Linked DNA regions of Homo sapiens: region 2 is linked to region 1. Evidence: promoter capture Hi-C in 16 types of primary human blood cells and fetal thymus (Javierre and others, 2016). All regions are on one chromosome and are shown on one strand. The core of a region is centred on a gene start or on the middle of the fragment in contact, and the rest is flanking DNA. Distances in the headings are between cores, read along the strand shown. Region 1 holds the start of GPR37L1 (G protein-coupled receptor 37 like 1). Region 2 holds the start of LMOD1 (leiomodin 1).

What was found. The method cuts DNA at HindIII sites, captures the fragments that hold promoters and counts their contacts. A CHiCAGO score of 5 or more calls a contact.
Region 2: a contact is called between the fragment with the promoter of LMOD1 here and the fragment with the promoter of GPR37L1 in region 1, in 1 of 17 cell types (erythroblasts). The highest score is 6.5, in erythroblasts.

Annotation. Positions count from the first base shown.
Region 1 is chr1:202,118,999-202,124,706 of GRCh38, reverse strand. GPR37L1 (G protein-coupled receptor 37 like 1) reads right to left here and starts at 1,790. Exons shown (of 2, transcript NM_004767.5): 1 at 1,114-1,790. The coding sequence starts at 1,743. It overlaps LOC105371683 (a long non-coding RNA gene), which reads left to right. Exons shown (of 3, transcript XR_922422.3): 2 at 649-756; 3 at 974-1,120. RefSeq lists a cis regulatory region at 5,358-5,708. The HindIII fragment of the contact is 24,323 bases long and covers 1-5,708 here.
Region 2 is chr1:201,943,103-201,948,396 of GRCh38, reverse strand. LMOD1 (leiomodin 1) reads left to right here and starts at 1,849. Exons shown (of 3, transcript NM_012134.3): 1 at 1,849-2,317. The coding sequence starts at 2,057. The HindIII fragment of the contact is 4,460 bases long and covers 1-2,906 here.

The DNA of each region.
Region 1 (5,708 bases), core at 541-3,040:
AATGCTGATCCTGAGCCCTTCTCCGGCCAGGCAAGTCCCCCTTGTCATGCAGCATCATTCACGAAGGAACAGCAGCTTCACAGGGAGACCACAGTCACTCCATTACACTCCATGCAGCCAAAATTTGAAAGACTGTTTGCTTATTTTGTCTTACAGAGAGAGAGAGGGTGGCCTTGCTGTGTCTTGCATAAATGCACACATCAGTATGTTTCTGCAGTGTTTTAAGTTGTCTCTCTATGCTCTACATATCCTTTGACACCCATGGACTTATCGTAGACGCTACCAGAAGTAAGGGCATAGTGGTATACTTTAGAACTGTGAAACAGGCCAGCTGGAAGGACCATCTGGTCTACCCGCCCTGGTTGGGAGATAAAGAAATTGGAGAGGTAATGCAACCTGCCCAGTGACGCCCAGTATGTCAGTGGCAGAGCTAAGACTAGAGCCCCCCATTAGTTCCAGTGCCCAGAACCAGGTATCCCTTTCAGAGAGGATCTAGGAAGTTGCTGATGGAAATGACAACGATAACAATGAGAATCCCAGCAGGGAGGGAAGAACGGAGCGGTCTTTTGCTTCTGGTGCTTGTATTCTCATGGAGTGGATGCTGACTTGATCCAGAGGGGTGTGAAGGAAATTGGGCTCTCCCTTCAGGCACTCCTTCAGGAGGCAGGAGACGGAGGAGCAGCGAAGGAAGCTGTGGGAGCAGGGCAGCGGCAGGGGGTACAGAGGAAAGAAGAGGAGTCACAACAAAGGACAGAGGTATCTTGGGTGGGACAGGGGAGAAGGGCTGAGGAAGGGAGAGGGCAGCTTAGGGTCTGGAGAAAGTGGCAAAGGCCTGCCTTGAGGTTGCTCCCGAAGCAGAAGATCAGGCTGGGGCTGGAACCCAGGGGCCCCACACACCCGCCTGTCCCCCTGGCCTGCCTACTTCTCTTGAGAGCAACCAGAAACCAATACCGTATTTGTCTCCTTCTCCAAGGTAAAGGAGGAGCAAGTCAGAGCTCCAAGACTCAGGTTTTGCACACCCACAAATTCCATTTCCAAAGACCTGATGGAGACTTTGAGTCCCTTCCCTGGATTGCAGCCTCCCAGCAGAGCTCAAACAGAACACACACTCACCTCCATGAAGGGCACGGCACGACAAGAAACGTCACCCAGTAGCCTCTGCTTGGTGATCTCGTTGAAGATGACAATAGGGAGGCAGAAAAAGAGGACCAGAAAATCCCAGAGGGCCAGGCTGGCAAGGATGGAGTTCCAGGCACTCTTCAGGTAGTAGCTGTGCCACACGATGCACATGACCGACAGGTTGCCCACAATGCCCACCGCAAACACCACCAGCGCCAGAAGCATGATGGCATAGGCACTGTAGGAGCTCTCGGTCACCGGATACAGGGGGTTCTGGATCTGTAGCCTCTGCCCTGGTGCTCCTGTCAGATTGCCCCTCAGTTCCTGCCCACTGTCTGGGGTGCCCCCATCCTTGCCGGGGTTAGGGCTGGTGGCCACCAAGGGCTTGGTTGGCTGCAGGCCAGCAGGGTGAATGGGCCGGGGGTACTCCGCCCACTCCTCAGGCACATACTGCTGCACGCCCTTGGCCTCCTCATCCTCGGTGCCCCTCTTGGATCGGCTCTGCTGCTCCTGGGTCTCGGCTCTGTGCCTGCCCAGGTGCAGGGGGGCACCCCCAGAGACCCTGCTTAGCCCCACAGCCAAAATCACAGCAAGAGAGACAGCCAGGGGCCACAGCCACCGCATGGCTGGATGAGCAGGAGACAGCCAGCCCAGGAAGAGCAGGTGAGTGCAGGGGGCCCAAGAGCTGGGCTCCAGAGAGGCAGCTGGCCGGCTGGATCCGCCTCCAGTCAGGCGTCTGGCATCACTCGCCTGCCCTCCCTCCCAGCCTCCGGCCACAGGCCGGGCAGGGCCCTCTGCTGGACACATAGCACTCTTTGCTGCCCTCACACATCTCGTCCTCCACGACGCCGCTTCTCAGGCCCTACAGCATGTCAGGCTGTGGGGCCCTAAGAGGGCATCTGCTTCAGGCCCCTGAAACTAGGGAGGAAATGTGGCCTGCCTAGGGTGACACAGGGAGGTGGGGCAGAATGGGAACTGGGGCGCAGGTCTCCTGATTCTAAGGCAGCTCCTCCATTCAAAACTCAGCAATAACCATCACTGTCACTTACTGAACACTTACTAGGTGCTAGCACTCAGCTGGTTTCTCAATTAACCCTTGATTAATCTCAGATCACAAATCTGAGGTTTGTAGAGGTCAGTCACTTGCCACATAGTTGATACAAGGCAGAGCAAGGCCCACAACCCAGATCTGACTCCAGAGATTTCTAATTTTTTTTTTTTTTTCGGTTGCCCAGGCTGGAGTGCAATGGCGCGGTCTTGGCTCACTGCAGCCTCCGCCTCCTGGGTTCAAGTGATTCTCCTGCCTCAGCCCCCTGAGTAACTGGGATTACAGTTACTGTAGTGCCCGCCACCATACCCGGCTAATTTTTGTATTTTTAGTAGAGACAGGGTTTCACCGTGTTGACCAGGCTGGTCTCAAACTCCTAACCTCAGGTGATCCGCCTGCCTCAGCCTCCCAAAGTGCTGGGAGCCACCGCACCCGGCCTAAAACACCATATTCTGAGCCAGACACAAGATGTGTGGACATTTGCAATAACACGTCTTTACTGACTACGTGTTGTGTTCCAGACACTCAGAATACAAAAATGTAAAGGATCTCTGCCACCAATGAGCTTTCAGTCCAGAGAAGGAAGTAAATGTGTAAGTTCAGCATGATAGATGCTATGAAAGGCAAAGGTCATGATGCTGAGGGAACCCAAGAAAATCTGGGGGGGATCTGGAAGGCCTCCCAAGCGAGGTGACATTTGAATGGATCCCGAGAAATGGCTGTGAGCTTGCCTGACAGACTACGGGAAGGGAGGGTGCTCTAGGCAGAAGACACAGCACACACAAAGGCTGGGTGATGTGGAAGTGGGTGATGTTCCCGCAAGAGAGCAAGTCTGTCGAGGGGACTAGAGTGCAAGGGAGGTGGGGAGAGAGCATGGGCACTTGGGACAAAGAGCTTGGAAATATCAGCAGAGGAGGAACTGGACTGTAAAGGACTTTGTATGCCAAGCCAAGGAGTTTAGATTTTATCCCATAAGCAATGGAGAATATCACAGGTTGTTAAGTAGGCAAACAATGACTCAACTAAGTTATTTTAGAGGGGTCCCTGATGGGCAGCTGGGGTCCTAGCAATCTGGAACAGGAGGATGCAGAGACCGGGGGTTCTGTTGGGAGGCAGTGGGTGATGGAGAGAAGCCCAGAGTCAAGGAAAACCAGCAGCTTTGAGCGGCTTTGGCTGTGCATGGGAGGGAGAGGTCGAGGCAGAGCCCAAGCATGGGGTGGGTAGTGAATCCACTCAGCCACATTAGGGAGGCACAGTTCTGAGGACGGACCACACGATGCCTAGGAGAATCCACTGGAGAATTAACTCGAAGACCTGCCCCAGAGTGAGTCAGATCATTCCCTCCTCCCAACTCCCACGGCATTATGCTGCTGTCATTGAAACCTACCACCTTCACCAGCCCAGACAACATGGTGAAACCCCATCTCTACTAAAAATACAAAAATTGGACAGATGTGGCAGTGCACACCTGTAATCCCAGCTACTCGGGAGGCTAGGGCATCAGAATCACTTGAACCCAGGAGGCAGAGGTTGCAGTGATCCGAGATCATGCCACTGCACTCCAGCCTGGGCAACAGAGCAAGACTCTGTCTCAAAAAAAAAAAAAAAAAAAAAAAGGGCCAGACGCAGTGGCTCATGTGTGTAATCCCAGCACTTTGGGAGGCTGAGGTGGGCAGATCACAAGGTCAGGAGTTCAAGACCAGCCTGACCAACATGGTGAAACCCCCGTCTCTACTAAAAATACAAAAAAAAAAAAATTAGCCACGCGTGGTGGCAGGCACCTGTAATCCCAGCTATTTAGAAGGCTGAGGCAGGAGAATCACTTGAACCCGGAAGGCGGAGGTTGCAGTGAGCTGAGATTGCGGCCAATGTACTCCAGCCTGGGCGACAGAGCAAGATTCCATCAAAAAAGAAAGAGAAAAGGAAAGGAAGTTGGGGGAGGGGAGGGGAGGGGAGAGGAGAGGAGATGAGAGGTGTGCTATTTGGGGATTTGGGTAACTAGAATCATCCATCATCTGCAGCATCACCACTCACCAAGTGCCACACTCTGTGCTAAATGCTTGCTATAATTGTCACTTAATCTTTATATTATTACCCTAGACTCTGAAAGGTAAGGCAACTTTCCTAAGAACACACAGCTAGTGAATGACAGCTGGGATCCAAATGTAGGTTTGTCCAACTCCAAAGCTAAAACTCTTTTTTTTTTGAGACAGGGTCTGGCTCTGTTGCCCTGGCTGGAGTGCAGTGGCATGATCTTGGCTCACGGCAACCTCAGCCTCCCAGGCTCAAACAATCTTCCCACCTCAGCCTCCAGAGTAGCTGGGACCACAGATGTGCACCACCACACCTGACTAATTTTTGTATTTTTAGTAGAGACAGGCTTTTTGCCATGTTGCCCAGGCTGATCTCAAACTCCTGAGCTCGAGTGATTTACCCGCCTCAGCCTCCCAAAGTTCTGGGAATACAGGTGTGAGCCACCTCACCCAGCCCAAAGCTGAAACTCTTAACCACTCCTTTGTGTGACTTCACAGAATTCTAACATAGGAAGAGATGCTAGAGATAATCTACACCAACCTTCTTATTTTTCAGGAGTGGAAACGGAAGTCCAGAGAAGCCAAGTGACCAGGCCAGGCACTTGGCAGTCCTGTCTCTGCTGTGGGATCCTCAGTGCTCCACAGGCACGTGCCAATACAGTATGGACCCAAGCCCAGGGCTGGTACGTGTGAGCAGAATAAATGTTAGTTCTCTGCTCTTTAAAAAAAAAAAAATTCAGAGACAGAGTCCTGCTCTATTGCCCAGGCTAGAGCACAGTGACATGATCATACTCACTGCAGACTTGAACTCCTGGGATCAAGCAATCCTTCCACCTCAGCCTCCAGAGTAGCTAGGACTACAGGTGCACACACCCTGCCTGACCTTCTGCTTCTTATTTTATTTTATTTTATTTTATTTTATTTTATTTTATTTTATTTCAGAGACAGGGTCTCGCTCTGTCACCCAGATTGGAGTGCAGTGGCAGGATCTAGGCTCACTGCAGCCTCAACTCCTCCTGGGCTCAACTGATCCTCCCACCTCAGCCTCCCAAGTAGCTGGGCCCACAGGCACATGCCACCATGCCCAGCCTTTTGTGTTTTTTTTGGTAGACATAGGGTCTGCCTGTATCACCTAGGCTGGTCTAGACCTCCTGAGCTCAAGCAATCCACCCACCTCAGCCTCCCAAAATGGTGGGATTACAGGCGTGAGCTACCGTGCCCAGCCTCTTTATGCTCATGGATATGCCTCCATCAAACCTCACATTTGGCCTCACACAGAGTAGGTGCTCAATAAACACTGAATGCCTGAAAGGGCACCCCCTTGTGCCGGTCTCTGTGAGAACGGTTGGAACATCAGAGGCCACTAGGTGGAACCAAATGTCCAGTGATGGTAGTTAAGGGCCTGGCCTCAGCCCTTCACCCCATCGGATCTTAACCCATCCCACTCTGCCCAGGTCCTGCCCACAGACCTTCTGTGGCTGTCTGAGAAGGCCATCTGAAAAGAGATG
Region 2 (5,294 bases), core at 600-3,099, 180 kb after region 1:
CCCCTGTGCTTGCTCGCTCTTTCTTTCTTTCTTTCTTTCTTTCTTTCTTTCTTTTTTGAGATGGGGTCTTACTCTGTTGCCCAGGCTGGAGTACAGTAGCGTGATCACAGCTCACTGCAGCCTCAACCTTCTGGTCTCAAGCAATCCTCCCACCTCAACCCCCTGAGTAGCTGGGACAACAGATGCTCACCACCACATCAGGCTAATTTTGTTTTTTTTTTTTTTTTGGAGAGATGGGGGTCTCATTATGTTGCCCAGCCTGTTCTTGAACTCCTGGACTCAAGCAATCCTCTTGCCTTGGCCTCCCAAAGTGCTGGGATTACAGACATGAGCCACTGCACCTGGCCTGATTTTGTATCTTTAGTGATATCTCTTGCTCTTAGAACAATGCCTGATATATAATAGGCACTTGATAAATCACTCAATAAATATATACCTACGGTTTGACCAATAAGTTGGCTACTGACTCTTAAAATGACAACCCCCAGGTTTCCCTAAAGTCTTCTTCCACTCTTCCTATCAAGTCTGCCTGCCTTCCTTCTGCCCTTCAGTCCCCCCAGTGGACACCATTCCCCTCTTCAGCCTTAACCTAAAGTTGGACTAGTGGACATTAAATGGCACGGCCAAGTTTTAGTCCCAGACGATCCCTGGACTCAGCAAATGCTGATCAAGTGACTGTCTCTCTCTGGCTTAGGATGGAAAGATGCCAGGAAAGATCGAAGCATCTACCCTGATGGGTTACACCAGGGCTTCTAGAAGGGATTTTGTGGCAGGAGGAAGGGGGGCAGGGGATTGAATGTCTCTGTGACTTGTGCAGGGCAGCATGATGGATGAGCAGTGGAAAGCCCTTCTATGAAACATGCCAGACCTGTTGCAATCGTATCTCTCCCGACGGCCCAGAATTCTGTTTCCCTGAAGACATACTAAATCGTGCTCTGGATTTATATGTGGGTGGTGACCTGCCTCTGTGCTCCCAAAGGAGGTCTGTCTACAGATGCCCGGCAGAGGAAGAAACAGATGACAACAGGGGGAGGTTTGAACCCTCTTCCCAAGAGCCTTGGAACTTCATGGAAAGTGACAGCCCTTTAAGAGTTTCCCGACTTCTGCAGATCCTTCTCTCTTTCCCAAACAGCCTGCCAGTTTTCAGTTTTGGTACACAGTAAGGATTTATTCTCTCTCTCTCTCTCTCTCTCTCTCTCTCTCTCTCTCTCTCTCCCTCTCCTGCCTAGCTATCTCTATCTCTAAGTTTGTCTTTCTGTCTCCTGTCTCTCTCTTAAGAAGTGGCCAAAGGATCCTGGAGCCTCTGATGCTCAGCCTTCAGGTCCTCCTTGGCAGAACCTGGGTAGAAAGAAAATGGGTAGGCAGGGGGTTAGGAGTAACAGCTCCTCATCTTGAATCTAGACTTTCCTGGAGCTGTATACACCTGGGAGCCCCCCAGCACATTACCAAATACTGTAGAAGGAAGTCCATGAACCACACATTGACCACAGTGATACGTCCACCCGGTGATGGAGTAGTAAAATACGCTCTTGAACGTGCCCCGGGCTGGCGAGTTCACCGGCCCTCATGGCCTCGTCCCTGCTTGTCTGGCTCTCCGTGGCTGTGATCTGCTTCTGCCAGCCTACGCATTTTTGTATCTTTTTCTCATTGCGTGGCCCCTTGTCTTTAAAAGGCTAAACTGCTCTGTACTAAATTTGGTCACGCAGCGCTCCAAGATTCCCTGGAATGTCCTCAAGTTTCAAACAGCTCTGACAGCGAGGTAGGCCCGCCCCCAGCTTGGGGATTGGCTTCTCCTCTCCGGGCCTGGCAGTTGTCGGGTCTTATTGGCCGCTGATTAGACCAGCCGGGGTCCACTAGCCCTGGGCTTCAGGGAGGCTGCTGCGTCCAGTGAACACTTCAGCACCTGTAGCACAGAAGGGCCAAGGAGCTGCAGTCCTCGACCAGCAGGAGGTTTGCTCCTCAGCCCACTCGCTGCATCCAGATCAGCTCACCCCTCTCCCTTCCCTGCCCACCAGGACTCTGATAGCCCCTGGCAGCCACAGCCCATTTTGCCAAGATGTCTAGAGTAGCCAAATATCGCCGGCAGGTGAGTGAAGACCCCGACATCGACAGCCTGCTGGAGACCCTGTCTCCCGAGGAGATGGAGGAGCTGGAGAAGGAGCTGGACGTGGTGGACCCAGACGGGAGTGTTCCCGTGGGGCTGCGGCAGAGAAACCAGACGGAGAAACAGTCCACGGGTGTGTACAACCGGGAGGCCATGCTCAACTTCTGTGAAAAGGAGACCAAGAAACTTATGCAGAGGGAGATGTCCATGGATGTGAGTGAGCACAGCCCTGGAGGGGAGGAGGGAGACAGGGGAGGGCTGGAGACCCTGGCTTCATGATTAGGATGCTTCCTTCCTTAGAAGAAACGTTCTTGTTGGCAAAGGATTTTAATGCTTCAGAACTGATGATTATCCACTGAACTAGCGGTGCGAATCTCTTACTCCTAATTTCTGTTTTATAAGCAGAAGTCGGATATGTTGGAGGAACACAACATCCCACAAAATCAAATAGAGCTACTAGTAGAATGGGAGCTGGAAGGTGTCCTTGAAGAGTCCATTGTCAAGTTGACTCCATCCTGGTCCCACAATACCTTTGTTTTTCTCCACACTCATTCCATCCTATTGTGAGGAGGGGTAAAAAGAGAGAGTGATACTTTATGTCTCCTGTCAGCCACCCAAAAAGACAAAGCTAAGCCATTTTTTGTGGGAGAATAACTCATTTTCAAGTCCCCAACCCTATGGGCATCTCACGGCACATGGATCATTTCAGGAGGCTTGGGGGTAAATGAGTTTCCCAAAGCAAAGGGAGACAGGGACCAGGAGTCTATGGGCTGGGAAATGTGGCTTAAAGACCTGATAAGCTTCAAATTTATTCCCAGGGAAGATGTTTTTTGTTGTGGTTAGTTGGTTTTTGGTTTTGTTTTGTTTTTGCACTCTCCAGAGGAGCCTCTGGAGGGAGCATGCCCTCTTTTTGGTAATTAACCCTTTAGCAGCTGGCGAGGCCGCTTTGCTGGGGGTTGAAGATAGTCATAGAGGAGGGAAAAGGGGTGACGGTTTTGGAAGCATCTGCCCACACCTACAATGGGCTTAAGCACAACTTGCTTTCTGTTTTCCTGAGTTGGCATGGAGGAATTTTTTTTTTGTCACTATTGCATTGGTATGTGAGTTTTCTTTGGACAAACTAGCCTCCGATGAAGTATGACTTTGTGGGATACCTTTGTCCATGGGAAAGAGTGTTGCATAGGAAAATTGTTCAAGTCTTTGTTCTAGTTCTCTTATTCAGCCACATCTCTTGTACATTATCCATTACTTGTGAATTCTTGCAAGAAAAAGATCAGTCTCAATTCTTGCTTTTTGTTTTACTTCTATGGAAACTGAGGCACAGAGCTTCAAATGACATGCACATTCTCACAGAGGAACTGAGAATGGGAACATTATCATCCAAAATGCCTGCGGAATGACTGGCTGGGTATGAAATTGTGTTGACTGCTAGTCACAGAGCATATTGGTGGACACAGCCCTGACTCCTTTAGTGTAGCAATGGGAAAGAAGGGAGGAGGAGGGAAGGGGGTGAAGCAAAGAGGAGCTGGAACTCTGTCTCTGTCCCTACCGCCCCCCCCCGCCCCACCACCTATGTTTAAGCCTTTGCCAAGAAGAGGGAGAAGGAGGGAGGAAGGAGGGAAGCCAGGAGGCTCAGGAATTTATTGTCCTGTATGCACAAGGTGGTTGCCCCAGATGCAGCTATGATAATGATAAATAAAACCAAAACATTTACAGAAAAAGTGGTAGCACTTACTGTGAGGGCCCGGTACCCCAACACAGCTATCAGGAATCATACAGAAAGAAATGAAATGCAGCCAAAGGCTTTGGCACCCTTGGAAATCGTTGACTCTGCTCTTCCCCACTCCCAGTCGCAGGCTCTGGGCCCATGACTGCCTTGTGTCCGGTAGCTTCCAGTGCTCAGAAAGGTACTCCTGAGGCTGAAGTCAAACAAAGCAGTCTAATCACAAGCAAGAGTGTGAAGGATTCTCCTGTTCCTGGAAATTTCACTATCATAGACTTTTTATTCAGCCAGTTAATACCGTGACAAGTGTCTCCTCCCCTGCCTCACCTCTCTCACCCCTGCCAGGTCCACACTTGGTTCTGCGGACAGAGCCCGAGTCAAGAAATAGAAGTGGTGTGTGTGTTTGTGTGTACATCCTTGATGTAAGGAGATGCCTTTAGGTCCGGTTTTCCCTTGTGGATGTAGGCTGTTCTGATCCCCTCACTCTTCCTCACCCTGTCCAGGGACGTACATTGGCATAATGGCTGGCTGGAGTTCGGGGTGCATGCTGAGCCTGGGCAGAAGTCATCTCTGTAAATCTGGGTGAGAATGAACCCTAGAAGGTGGCTTCTTTGGCACCATTAACAAAATAGTGAGTGTGTGGCCAAGAACTTGGATTTAAGTATTAGAAAAACCTGGTTTGAGTAATGGTGTCTCTGTGTAAGTCACAAGTTACCTAATCTAAGCCTCAGTTTCATCACCTACAAAATATGGATAGTAGTACCCATCTCACAGGGTTGTGAACACTAAAAGCGGTGCTGCGGTAGAGCACTTAGCACAGAGCTTGGCGTGTCATAAACACTCAGTCAAGGCCAGCTATGAAATTATTACTTCATCTGAGTCAAGGAACCCAGAAACCGGTGAAGTGGGCCGAAAGCAAATCTCTACTCCTGTCCAGCCCCTCTCTTCCCTCAGTTTCCTGAGGGCTGTGCAAGCCTCACCTGTCAGTTTAATGAGTGGCCCGAGTAAACAAGCAACCCCTGGGTGCTCAGAGTGGGGACCACCAACACCACAGACACAGCACCGTGCTGGGGGCAGGTGGACTCCAGGCTGCTGGCCTGGCTGCAGCCCTCACTGACGGTGGCCTTCACTCCATGTGAGGAACTGAAAAGTGGTCAAAACAGAGAGTAAAGCAAGATGAGCATTTACTAAGAAACTTCTACATGCCGAGCACATTCACCTTTTCTTTAAGCCTTACGATTCTTGGGAGATGTGTATTTTTATTCCTATTATCTTAGAGAGGTTGAATAACCTTCCCAAAGTCACACAGCTAATTAGTTGAGATCAGTGCTTCTTCCTCTCTGCCATACTAGGGTGCAAAAAAGACAGTAATGTCAGTCCCTGCCCTGAAGAATTTGTAATCCAATTAGATTCCATGCAAAACACACATGGATAGAACCATCAGAGAGTGCTACAGAGCAGAGACCA